3 separate regions of the Homo sapiens genome follow, and all the other regions are linked to region 3. Evidence: promoter capture Hi-C in human tissues and cell types (Jung and others, 2019). All regions are on one chromosome and are shown on one strand. Each heading gives the region's core, a stretch centred on a gene start or on the middle of the fragment in contact. The rest is flanking DNA. Distances are from core to core; before and after follow the strand shown.

The links. The method cuts DNA at HindIII sites, captures the fragments that hold promoters and counts their contacts. A contact is called where the count stands out against the background at its distance.
Region 1: a contact is called between a fragment that was not itself captured here and the fragment with the promoter of ZNF879 in region 3, in 2 of the 25 tissues and cell types used here (dorsolateral prefrontal cortex and spleen).
Region 2: a contact is called between a fragment that was not itself captured here and the fragment with the promoter of ZNF879 in region 3, in 3 of the 25 tissues and cell types used here (dorsolateral prefrontal cortex, psoas muscle and spleen).

What each region holds. Positions count from the first base shown.
Region 1 is chr5:178,960,408-178,963,898 of GRCh38, forward strand. The region is part of intron 4 of ZNF454 (zinc finger protein 454); the gene reads left to right. Among named protein-coding and RNA genes, the nearest start is that of ZNF454, 21 kb to the left of the region's middle. The HindIII fragment of the contact is 4,453 bases long and covers 1-3,491 here.
Region 2 is chr5:178,980,786-178,984,242 of GRCh38, forward strand. It overlaps GRM6 (glutamate metabotropic receptor 6), which reads right to left. Exons shown (of 11, transcript NM_000843.4): 10 at 2,125-2,436; 11 at 1-1,069. The coding sequence ends at 872. It also overlaps a transcript of ZNF454 not described here. Among named protein-coding and RNA genes, the nearest start is that of GRM6, 13 kb to the right of the region's middle. RefSeq lists an enhancer at 1,940-2,109. The HindIII fragment of the contact is 5,310 bases long and covers 1-3,457 here.
Region 3 is chr5:179,021,739-179,025,199 of GRCh38, forward strand. ZNF879 (zinc finger protein 879) reads left to right here and starts at 2,066. Exons shown (of 5, transcript NM_001136116.3): 1 at 2,066-2,166; 2 at 3,232-3,299. The coding sequence starts at 3,267. RefSeq lists an enhancer at 1,694-2,195. The HindIII fragment of the contact is 17,237 bases long and covers 1-3,461 here.

The sequences.
Region 1 (3,491 bases), core at 277-2,776, 62 kb before region 3:
CCACCACGCCCGGCTAATTTTGTATTTTTAGTAGAGACGGGGTTTCTCCTTGGTCAGGCTGGTCGCAAACTCCGGACCTCAGGTGATCCACCCGCCTTGGCCTCCCAAAGTTCTGGGATTACAGGCATGAGCCACCACACCTGGCCAGCCCATTCCTTTTCTTAATGGTTTGATTTCTGAGTCATTGAGGGTGCCATATGAACATTTTTCACTATGATTATTGATTTATCTATTTTTCCTTTTTATTCTATTTTTACTTTATACATTTTTAAAGTTATGTTGTGTGCATACAAATGAAAATTTGTTGTATGTTCCTGGAGAATTGACCCTTTTGTCTATATAAAATACCTTAAAGTCTGTTTTCTCCAATACTGTGTGATTTGTCTGATATTAGTATGGGTATAGCACCTTTCTTTTGTATGATATATCCTTTTTAATTATTTTATTATTTCAGTGTCTATATTTTTGGTATTTCTTTTCTAAATGATACTCAGTTATGTTTTATTTGTTCATCCAGTCTCACAATCTTTTTTTTTTTTTTTGAGACACAGTCTCACTCTGTCGCCAGGCTGGAGTGCAGTGGCACGATCTCAGCTCACTGCAACCTCTGCCTCCTGGGTTCAAGCGATTCTTCTGACTCAGCCTCCCAAGTAGCTGGGATTACAGGTGCGTGCCACTGCACCCGGCTAATTTTTGTATTTTTAGTAGAGACGGGGTTTCACCACGTTGGCCAGGATGGTCTCAATCTCTTGACCTCGTGATCTGTCCGCCTCAGCCTCCCAAAGTGCTAGGATTACAGGCAAGAGCCACCACACCTGGCCCACAATCTTAGTTTTTAAAAATAACTTAGGTAAGTTACTATGTATGGGATTTTATATCTACTATCCTATTATTTATTTTATATTTCACTTACTTGCTTTAAATTCCTTGTCCTTTTTTCCTTCCTTCTATTGGATTAAATACTTTTATTGTGCCATTTTCACTCTGTATTAGCTTGTTAATTAACCTTCTTTACTTAGTCTTTTATTGTTAATAAATAAAACCAGCTTATTACTGTCCAAAATAAATTTTTACTTTTAATAAAATTAAAATTATTGTTACAATCTTAAAAATTAACAGCATTTTTGGCCAGGTGTGGTGGCTCACGCCTGTAATCCCAGCATTTTGGGAGGCCAAGGCGGGCGGATTGCCTCAGCTCAGGAGTTCGCAACCAGCCTGGGCAACACGGTGAAACCCTGTCTCTAGTAAAACACAAAAAAAAAATTAGCTGGGCATGGCAGCGTGCACCTGTAGTCCCAGCTACTCGGGAGGCTGAGGCAGGAGAATCGCTTGAATCCAGGAGGCAGAGGTTGCAGTGAGCTGAGATCACCACTGCACTCCAGCCTGGGCAACAGAGCGAGACTCTGTCTCAAAAAAAAAAAAAAAATTAACAGCATTTTCTTCCTTCTACCTTTATTTTTGCTATGTATTTTAATTCCACATATATTTGCAATCCATTAAGACATTATAATTATTGTCTCATATAATCAATTGTATTTTTGCTTATCCATATATTTAACTTTTCCATTGCTTTTCATGCCTTCTTACATTTTCATATTTCCACATGGAATTATTTTTCTTCTGCCTGGAACACATCTGTGTTTCTTTTAATGTAGATCTGCTGGTGACACCATCTCTGTTTTTATTTGTATGGAAATATCTACTTCAAGTTTAATTTTTAGAGATATTTTCTCTGTGTGTTGAATTCTAGCTTGACAGTTCGGTTCTTTCACCGCTTCAGATGTTACTTCATTGTCTTCTGGGTTCCATTGTTTTCATTAAGACACTGCCAGTCTTAGTTTTGCTTTTTCAAAGGTAGTGTATCATTTGTTTTTTTCAAGCAACTTTCAAGGTAATCTTCAGTTTTCAGTAGTGCCTAGCTGAGGTGCCTAGGTGAATTTTCTTTGTAGTTATCCTTGGAGTTTATAGCCCTTCTCAGAGTTCATTTTTCAACCTTTTTGTTTTTAAATAATGTTTAGTTTTTTAGCCATGTTTTACTATGGATATTTTCTGCTTATGTATTTTTGTAGCTCACTATTCCTCTTTTCTGCTATATTTGATATCTTGTTAAAGACTATTGAATTCATAATTTTGGTTATTGTATTTCTCAGTTCTAGAATTTCCATTTGATTATTTGGTTCCAATTCTTTGTTGTAATTCTCATTCCTGTTTCCTTGAACATATTAATCACAGTTATTTTAAGGTTCACGTCTGATAACTCTGGTATCTGTGTTCTACGGTTCTTTTTCTATTGTCTGTTTTTCCCTCTTCATTGAATTTCTTAGCACAGCTGGCCTTTTTTATTGTATCCCTGACACTATATGTGAAGGAGAGCAGAGGCTCTAGATGTTGTTCTTCCAGAGAAGATTTAACTTCCCTGGTAGCAGCTAGAGTGCAAGCAAACCATCTTAGTCCAGCCAAGGCCTGTAATAGCTGGAGGTTGGTCACAATATTTGTAAAGCTATGTCAACTGCTCATTTGCCCGTACTACTAGTTTTGTAGCCCTGCAGGAGTCCCGGCTGAGAGCTTCACATGTTATTATGACCTCTCCTTGGAAGGTCCTGGTTCTGTTGTACTAAAAGACTAGAAAATTCTGGATTTCTGCTTAACTTTAATCTTTTGCCCTGTAAAGCTTAAGAATTCAATAAAATGTTTGAGTAACAAGCCACTGAGTATTGGGATCACCTCTCTATATTTTCATTCTCTCCCAAATATTAGACTATAAAGTCTGCCTGGGTGACATCTGATGCCTTCAGACAGATAACTTTTTCCAATTCAGATTTTCTAGTTGTTTTCTGCAGAAATGTTAGTCTGCCACAGTCTACTCTATTTGGGCCAGAAGTGGAAGTCAGTCCTTAACATTTTGACATTTGGCAATACCGATGTTTAACTTTGACCATTCTTTGTTTTGAACAAGGATATATTATTCTGAGCTCAACAGGATTTTAGTCTTGAAATGCGCCTGTTTACCTTTCTTTTCCTAGTAAGTAAAGAGGTTTGTTTCTTTGATTCTAAAATGATACCAGGAGTGCCTTTTTGTAGAAGATTTTCTGCAGCGAGTGGGAAAAGGAGGTAATAAGGATGGCTTGTTCTTGATGGGATTTCTCGTGAATTCTGCATCGTCTGTGTTTGGAATCTAGCCCTTAGTTTTACATTTTAGGCCCTCTCCTGTTTGCCCTGAGAATACTTGCCGGCAGTGCTTGCAGCTGCAGCGTTTATCCTGAGATAACTTTGCCACAAAATATCTCATGGCACATTTCCCTCCCATGGGTGTCACATTATTCATATGGGTTTGGAGACATTGCTTCCTCACAAGCAATAGGAGGTCCTTATTTTTTTAGTAGATATGAGCATTTCACACAGCCTGTACAGCGGCCTAGCTTTTTATTATTCATCTGAATGCTCAAATGAGCCTATATCTTGATTTTAGTATTCACTCTAGAGTCAAGGTT
Region 2 (3,457 bases), core at 813-3,312, 41 kb before region 3:
ATCACACCTGGCTAATTTTTGTATTTTTAGTAGAGACAGGGTTTCACCACATTGGCCAGGCTGGTCTCGAACTCCGGACCTCAGGTGATCCACCTGCCTCGGCCTCCCAAAGTGCTGGGATTACAGGTGTGAGCCACCATGCCTGGCCAAGGTTGGGGTGATTTAAGGGAGTACACAGAGGGGAGGAAAACAGCTGTACTCTAAGTCTGACCTTGCCCAATCCCGGGGGGATGGGGGAAAGCCCATGGCATTGGGAATCTCATGGGGGCGCACCCCAGTTCCTCAGCTCACTCCCGCGCCCACTGCAGGCCCTTCCCATGCTCACAGGGGTCTCACCCAGGGTCTCTCCCTCCGTGCCAGAGGAATCCTACCCAGGCCTGAGTGCCTCCATCCAGATGCACAGCCCCAGGTCTCCTCTTGCTGAGACAGCTCCTCCTCCACTCCAACCCCATGTTTCATTCTGGGGTCTACACGTTCTTCCACACTGCCCAATCCCCAGGTTATGGGGGTTGACTGAGGGGAGGAAATCTCCCGCAAACCAGGCAAAGCCCAGGGCTTCATCATCCTCTTTGGACTTCGGATGAGAGAATAAGTTTAGTCCCTTTCTAGAGCTAGAACCTTCTCGGTGGCTGTTTCCCACCATGGGAAGCGAGTCTGGTCTGTGGTGAGGAAGCATGAAGCTCACATGCTGGAATCGGGGTAGAGCTGGGTCCAGTTCCTTCTCAAGGCCAGCCCCACCGACGCGGAGCATGGTCTTGGCAAACTCCCTGCCACTGACTGTTCACCGTGGACCCGGGCTCTATACAGCTTCCACCTCGAGGCAAGAGGAAGAAAGGAGAGGCAGCAAGCAGTCCCGTTCCCACCTGCCCTGCTACTTGTGGGCCTCTGCATCCTCGCCCTTGGGTGGGGCTGCCACCGTGGAGGTGGCCTTGAGGCTCCGCTTTCGCTTCTGCACATTCTGCTCTGGATGGAAGAGGATGACGTAGGTTTTGGGTACGTAGAGCATGCCGAGGGACACCGAGGCACTCAGGCTCAAGGACACGGTTAGCGTGGTTGTCTGGATGTAGATCTAGGCCATGGAAGAGGGGACCAGATGGGACTCAGCCCTGCTCTCCCTGCCCCGCTCCACACAGTCCTCACCACATACTCTGGAGCTGAGTCTGTTTCAGTTGGGGAACTGGGAATGAGCACTTAGACCAGGACAACAGTATGAGCAGGGGCCCCGCGCCTGAGGGGCTGGCAGCCTCCATGCAGCTCTGGTGTGGGCAGGAGGGAGGGGTGAGGAGGGGTTATTAACAGAGAGACACCTGGGGAAGCGGGAGCCGGGGCATGTCAGTGAATGAGCACGTTTCAAATACATACAAATGAATAAATGGGCAGAGACAAACTTCAGGAGCAGATGGGCAAATAAATGGATGACAGGTGCATAAAATATTCTGCCGCATACGTGAATAAATGATGCAGCAATGGGCTGACGCATTAATGGGTTGGCAGTTATAAAGCACATGAAGCCTGGGCGCAGTGGCTCACGCCTGTCATCCCAGCACTTTGGGAGGCCGAGGCAGATGGGTCACTTGAGGTCAAGAATTTGAGACCAGTCTGACTAATATGGTGAAACCCCATCTCTACTAAAATTACAAAAATTGCCCAGGCGTGGTGGCAGGCACCTGTAGTCCCAGCTACGGGGGAGGCTGAGGCTGGAGAATCACTTGACCCAGGAGGCGGAGCTTGCAGTGAGCCAAGATCACGCCACTGCACTCCAGCCTGGGCAACAGAGTGAGACTCTGTCTCAAAAAAAAAAAAAAAAAAAAAAAAAAAAGCATATGAAGAACTTGAATTAAAAAAAACAAGCTAACTGTAACTGGGTGACAGAGTGAGGCAATATCTCTCAAAGAAATGAAAATGATAAAAAAAAAAAAGAAAAAAAGAAGAGTGGAAGTTAAGAAGAGGGGTTAGAAGCTTGGAAAAGTGAATGAATGAACAAAGTAAGAAGGGAATGAGTGAATGAACAAGCAGCCAGATACGGGATAAACAAAAGCACGAACAAGCATTTAATCTCATGAATGAATCGACCAGCCTGACAGGCAGGAAACAGGCAGCGAGACCTCCTGGGGACCTCATTACCTTTTCAGCTGACTGGGCAGTGCCAAAGAAGATGGGCACGAATGCCAGCCAGATGATGCAGGTGGTGTACATGGTGAAGCCGATGGGCTTGGCCTCGTTGAAGGTCTCGGGCACGCCACGGGCCTTGATGGCGTACACTGTGCACGTGACCATGAGCAGGAGGCTGTAGCCCAGGCAGCCGATGAGAGACAGATCCGACATGTCGCACTTGAGCACCCCTCTGGCCTGCTCGGGGTCCACCGTCCGCTGTTCCTCATAGTCAATCACGCTGTGTGGGGGCCGGGCCCCCAGCCATGCTATCATCCCCACCACCTGCAGGAGCCAACACTGCATCAGACACAGCACTTTCCAGGGACAAATCCATTCCAGCCCTGACAGAGGCCCCTGCGGGTCAGGATCCCCTTGAGGCTCTGGCCTATGGAGGGGATGCTCCACCTCTTCGTGGTGGCTCTCAGGAGCACTCAGTGGAGAAGAGGGGATGGCAGCCCAGGCAGGGGCAGCCCAAGAGGGGTCCGTCCAAAGGCCCGTGACCTGGCAGCTGCGGAGAAGGGCTGTGCCGCCCGTATATGTTGGCAACATCAGTGCAGTGTGCATAAGGGGCAGCTTGGTGTCCTCTTCCTGCATTCTAGCCATTACCAATGCCATTTACTGCGCCCCTTCAAGGTAGATGGATGTGGCCGGAAGCTCTGGAACTGAGGCCCTACTCGCATCGCCTCTCTAGCCTCCTCACGTGTACTGAGCTTCAAAATCAGGGCACGCCACAGGCAAGAGAAACAAAGGAGCACTCAGTGGGGAGGAGCAGGAATGGGAGCTGATGCCGAGGAGTACTGGAGTCTGTGCAGGCCCTCACAGGGAGGAGATGGAGTTACCACTCCCTCACATGACAGGAAGCACAACCTCAAGCCAAGGAAAGCTGGGGAACAGGAACGAAGCCACCTGCATAAAGGCGGGACCCTGGAAGGGCTGCCCCACACGTTCGTGCTGGTTGTTCACTGTACGAGAGCGCCTGATTGGGGGCAGGGGTGGAGCTGGAATCCAGCCTGCATGCCAGTGCCATGCCGAGCACCTGGAGCAGGGCCATGTGATCCTGCTGGAAGGGATGCTTTGCAGTCATCTGCCCACCCAGAAGCAGCAGCTTTTTGTGCTTCTCCCAAAGGCAGCAGACCCCTGAACAAAGGACCTTCCAAATAAGTGGATCACGAGGTCAGGAGATCGAGACCAACTTCCAAAATAAGTTTGGAAGTTCCTACTAGAACAAGGCTCCAGGTGGAAAAAAAAAAAGTTGCTCATGAGAAACAAAAATGCAAGCCCAGGGCTGCACAGCGGTAACCAC
Region 3 (3,461 bases), core at 816-3,315:
CCAAAACCTGGTTTTTGCTGACATCATAGAACCACCGATTCTTCTCTAGCCGGAGTCTGCCCCAGTGATTTCTTGCTATTCCTTATTCATTTCAGCCAACTTGAGCAGTTCCATCTTCTGTGACTTGTAGCAAATAACACATGCCAACCTTTTATTCCGTCTTTTCTGGCCACTTTTAGGGGTTCCTATTTATCCTCAGAGTTGTGATATTTCATCGAGGATGTATTTTTTATGGGCCATCCCTACCCTAGCTCATTCATTATGCCAAACTCCCTACATTTTATTTACTCTGAAGACTCAGGGCTTCCTCAGCTTGAATGTGTTTTCTGCTATATCTCTATCACTATTTCTGTATGTAATCAATCTGTTATTATTCCCCCTCCCCATTTTCTCTGCTTTCTTCTGAATCTTTTTATTAGATTTTGGGTATCAGAGCACTTGTCTCCTGCATGTCTTCCAAATGTTTCCTCAATTTCTGGTGTTCTGATGGTATTTTTCTAGAGTTGCATTAGATTTGCTCCTTTGAAAATTATATGTGTTTGGGGTTACTTTGAAGAATATGAAGAGAAAAAGGGAGGTAATCATGGGTACTCAGTCTGGCACCTTTTACTTTGTAAATCTCAATGCTATGTTGTTTTGTCAATAATGGTCTATAACTGTCATATCTTTATTATTATTATTTTAAAATAATAATTAAATATAGAAATAACATATGGTCCAGAAATGGAATTGCCCATGTGTTAATTCTACATTTAATTTTTTTTTGAGGAACTGCCATACCGTTTTCCAGCGCAGCGCTACCATTTTACATTCCCACCATTAAGGCACAAGGATTGTTTTCTGGTTTTCTTTTTTTTCCAAATTTTATAATAGCCAACCTAATGAGTGTGAAATCGCAGTGGATGTTTGATCTGCTTTGATCTGCATTCCCCTAATGATTAGTGATGTGCATTATTATCTTTTAACAATATAAAACATCCATTTTGTTCGATTTAATTATTTTTACATTGCAATAATCTTTGTATTGTTGTAACATCGTGATCCAAGATTTCTTTTTCATATTATCTACCTGATATCTCTTAGTCCCTCTCTGCATTTTCTATCTTCAAGTACCCTTTGTGTTTAGGTTTGTCTCTGTAAACGCTAATGTTTGATATTTTAAAAATCAACACTTTCTGAGCACATAGTATTTGGCGTGTACAGTGCCGGTCACCGAGGATGCAGTTGTGATGATAGCGCTGGGAGTTGGGCTTTATTTTACGTTTTAAAGAAGTCACTTCAAAAGAAGTGAGTGCCATGAAGAGGGAAATACTAGGCTTATGCTTTTGTTTTACTCTGAGTGCCAGTAAATATGTAAAGATTACAAAAATTTATTTATTTATTTATTTATTTATTTGAGACAGAGTCTTGCTCTGTCACCCAGGCTGGAGTGCAATGGCGCGATCTGAGCTCACCGCAACCTTCGCCTCCCAGGTTCAAGCGATTCTCCTGCCTCAGCCTCCCGAATAGCTGGGATTACAGGCATGTGCCACCACGCCCGACTAATTTTTCGTGTTTTCGTAGAGACAGGGTTGCACCATGTTGGCCAAGATGGTCTCGGTCTCCTGACCTTGTGATCCGCCCACCTCGGCCTCCCAAAGTGCTGCGATTACAGGCATAAGCCACCGCGCCCGGCCGAGATTATAAAATTTAGACATAATTCATTTTTAATTAAAATCGCAGAATGGACTGTAATAGTTCTGTCACCACCTGCGAATAATCAGCAGCGGCTAGTCTTCCAGATTTAAAAATTCATACTCACTTTTCCGTCTTACTATTTTTGTCATTCTAATTACGAATACAATGGGTGGTTTAGCGGAGGGAGAGTAGTTGGAGCCCAAGCTGAGGGACTCGGCTTCAGCCTTCTCGAACTCCACAGCCCGACCGCGTTCTCCGCTCTCGGCGCTGTGGTTCTCTCTCGGACACCGTAAGTGGTGGTGCCGCAGCGACGTCTGGGAAATGAAGTCCGGAGGGACAAACGCTGCGGTTCAGCCAGGGAAACCCGTCGGCTCTCCGGCGCGCAGGCGCAGTTGCGCCCGGCAGCGACGGGAAACGTCTCTGAATTAGGTGTTCCGCTCGCCTCTTGTGCGGTGTGGAGCTGCGCGCCCCCCGCCGAGGCGGGCCCAGGTACAGGCTGCCGGTGAGGGCGGGCCCGGGGCGTGCGGCTGCCGCGGCGGGACCAGGACGAGGGCTGGCCTCTGCGCGTGTCTGCCGAGTCCCCGGCTCCGGGCGTCCGAGCCGGGGCGGCCTCGGCAGGTGAACCCGGCCCCGGAGGGGGCGTGGCCTGGGAAGGGCCTGGCGGAGGCCGGGAGGGCGCTTCGACGCCGCTGGACTCCTGGGCCGCAGCCTGGGCCGGACTCCGGGGGAAACGGCTCCAGAACAGAAACTGCAAAATGCCGCCTCGGTTCAGGGTCCGGAGCCCTCCGGGCGGTTTTTCGCTCTTAGTGTTTGTGGGTTTAAGCCTCCCCCTACTCCGTTTCCCGGAGTTTAAACTTTAGATTTACTCGTTTTTGGCAGTCTTGCACGTTTGGCAGTGTTTTCCTACAGCCAGTCCTAGAGTGATTTAACTATTTCTTTTTTTATTTACCGTAACCATGTCCACTTGCTACGTTTCTTCCCATTTCTCTAAATTTTAAATCAATTTCTAGCTAGTGATGCTGTTTTCTTGCGCCCTTGTTTTTTTGGGGCCAGGGAGAATGGGTAACGCTACCTTTAAGCAGCTTTGATAACTGTTTTTGATAAAGGAAGTAAATCTTACAAGAGGAAGAAAAGAGGACTAATTTTTGGTTGGCTGTTCCTAAAAAAGAGCATCAGTTCTTCAACTGCTGTTTTTCGTATTGAACAACATCCAAGTGCAGATGTGTGGAATATTGTGTCATTTCCTATTACTTTATCTGAATGAGCCTTGCCTGATTCTGCCCTTGACCCTGTTAAGGCACGGCAGATGGTCTTCATCCCTTCGCTCCTTTCGTCTTTATCGTAAAGCACTGGCAGAAAGGTAGCAGGCCCGGTGACTCTGAACCTGCTTCCCACACTGGTTTAAGTGGCCGGACTTAGGGCCCCTCTGGCCTGGGCAGTTCCAGGCTCCTTCTCTGCAGGTGCTCAGCTTATGGCTTCTAACCTGGTCTGGCCTAATGAGGGTGGGCATGCAGGCTGGATGAAAAGACCTCACAGCTTTTTTCTCCATTCCAGGTGCCTTCTCCAAGAGAGGCAGCAGGGAGGGAGAAATGGCAAGGAGGTTGCTGCCAGCCCATGTACAGGTGAGTGAAGGCTTCTTTTTGCTTGAACTGCCTTCAGGGTCTAGACGTGGTAAACTTCTTCATCTGTTGTTGAGCTTCTCTACCCAGTGAAGCTCAGGGAAGGACCAGAGGGCTTGGTAGCTGAGAAACTCTGGAAGGAAGGTGTTTCCCTTGCCTCAGAGC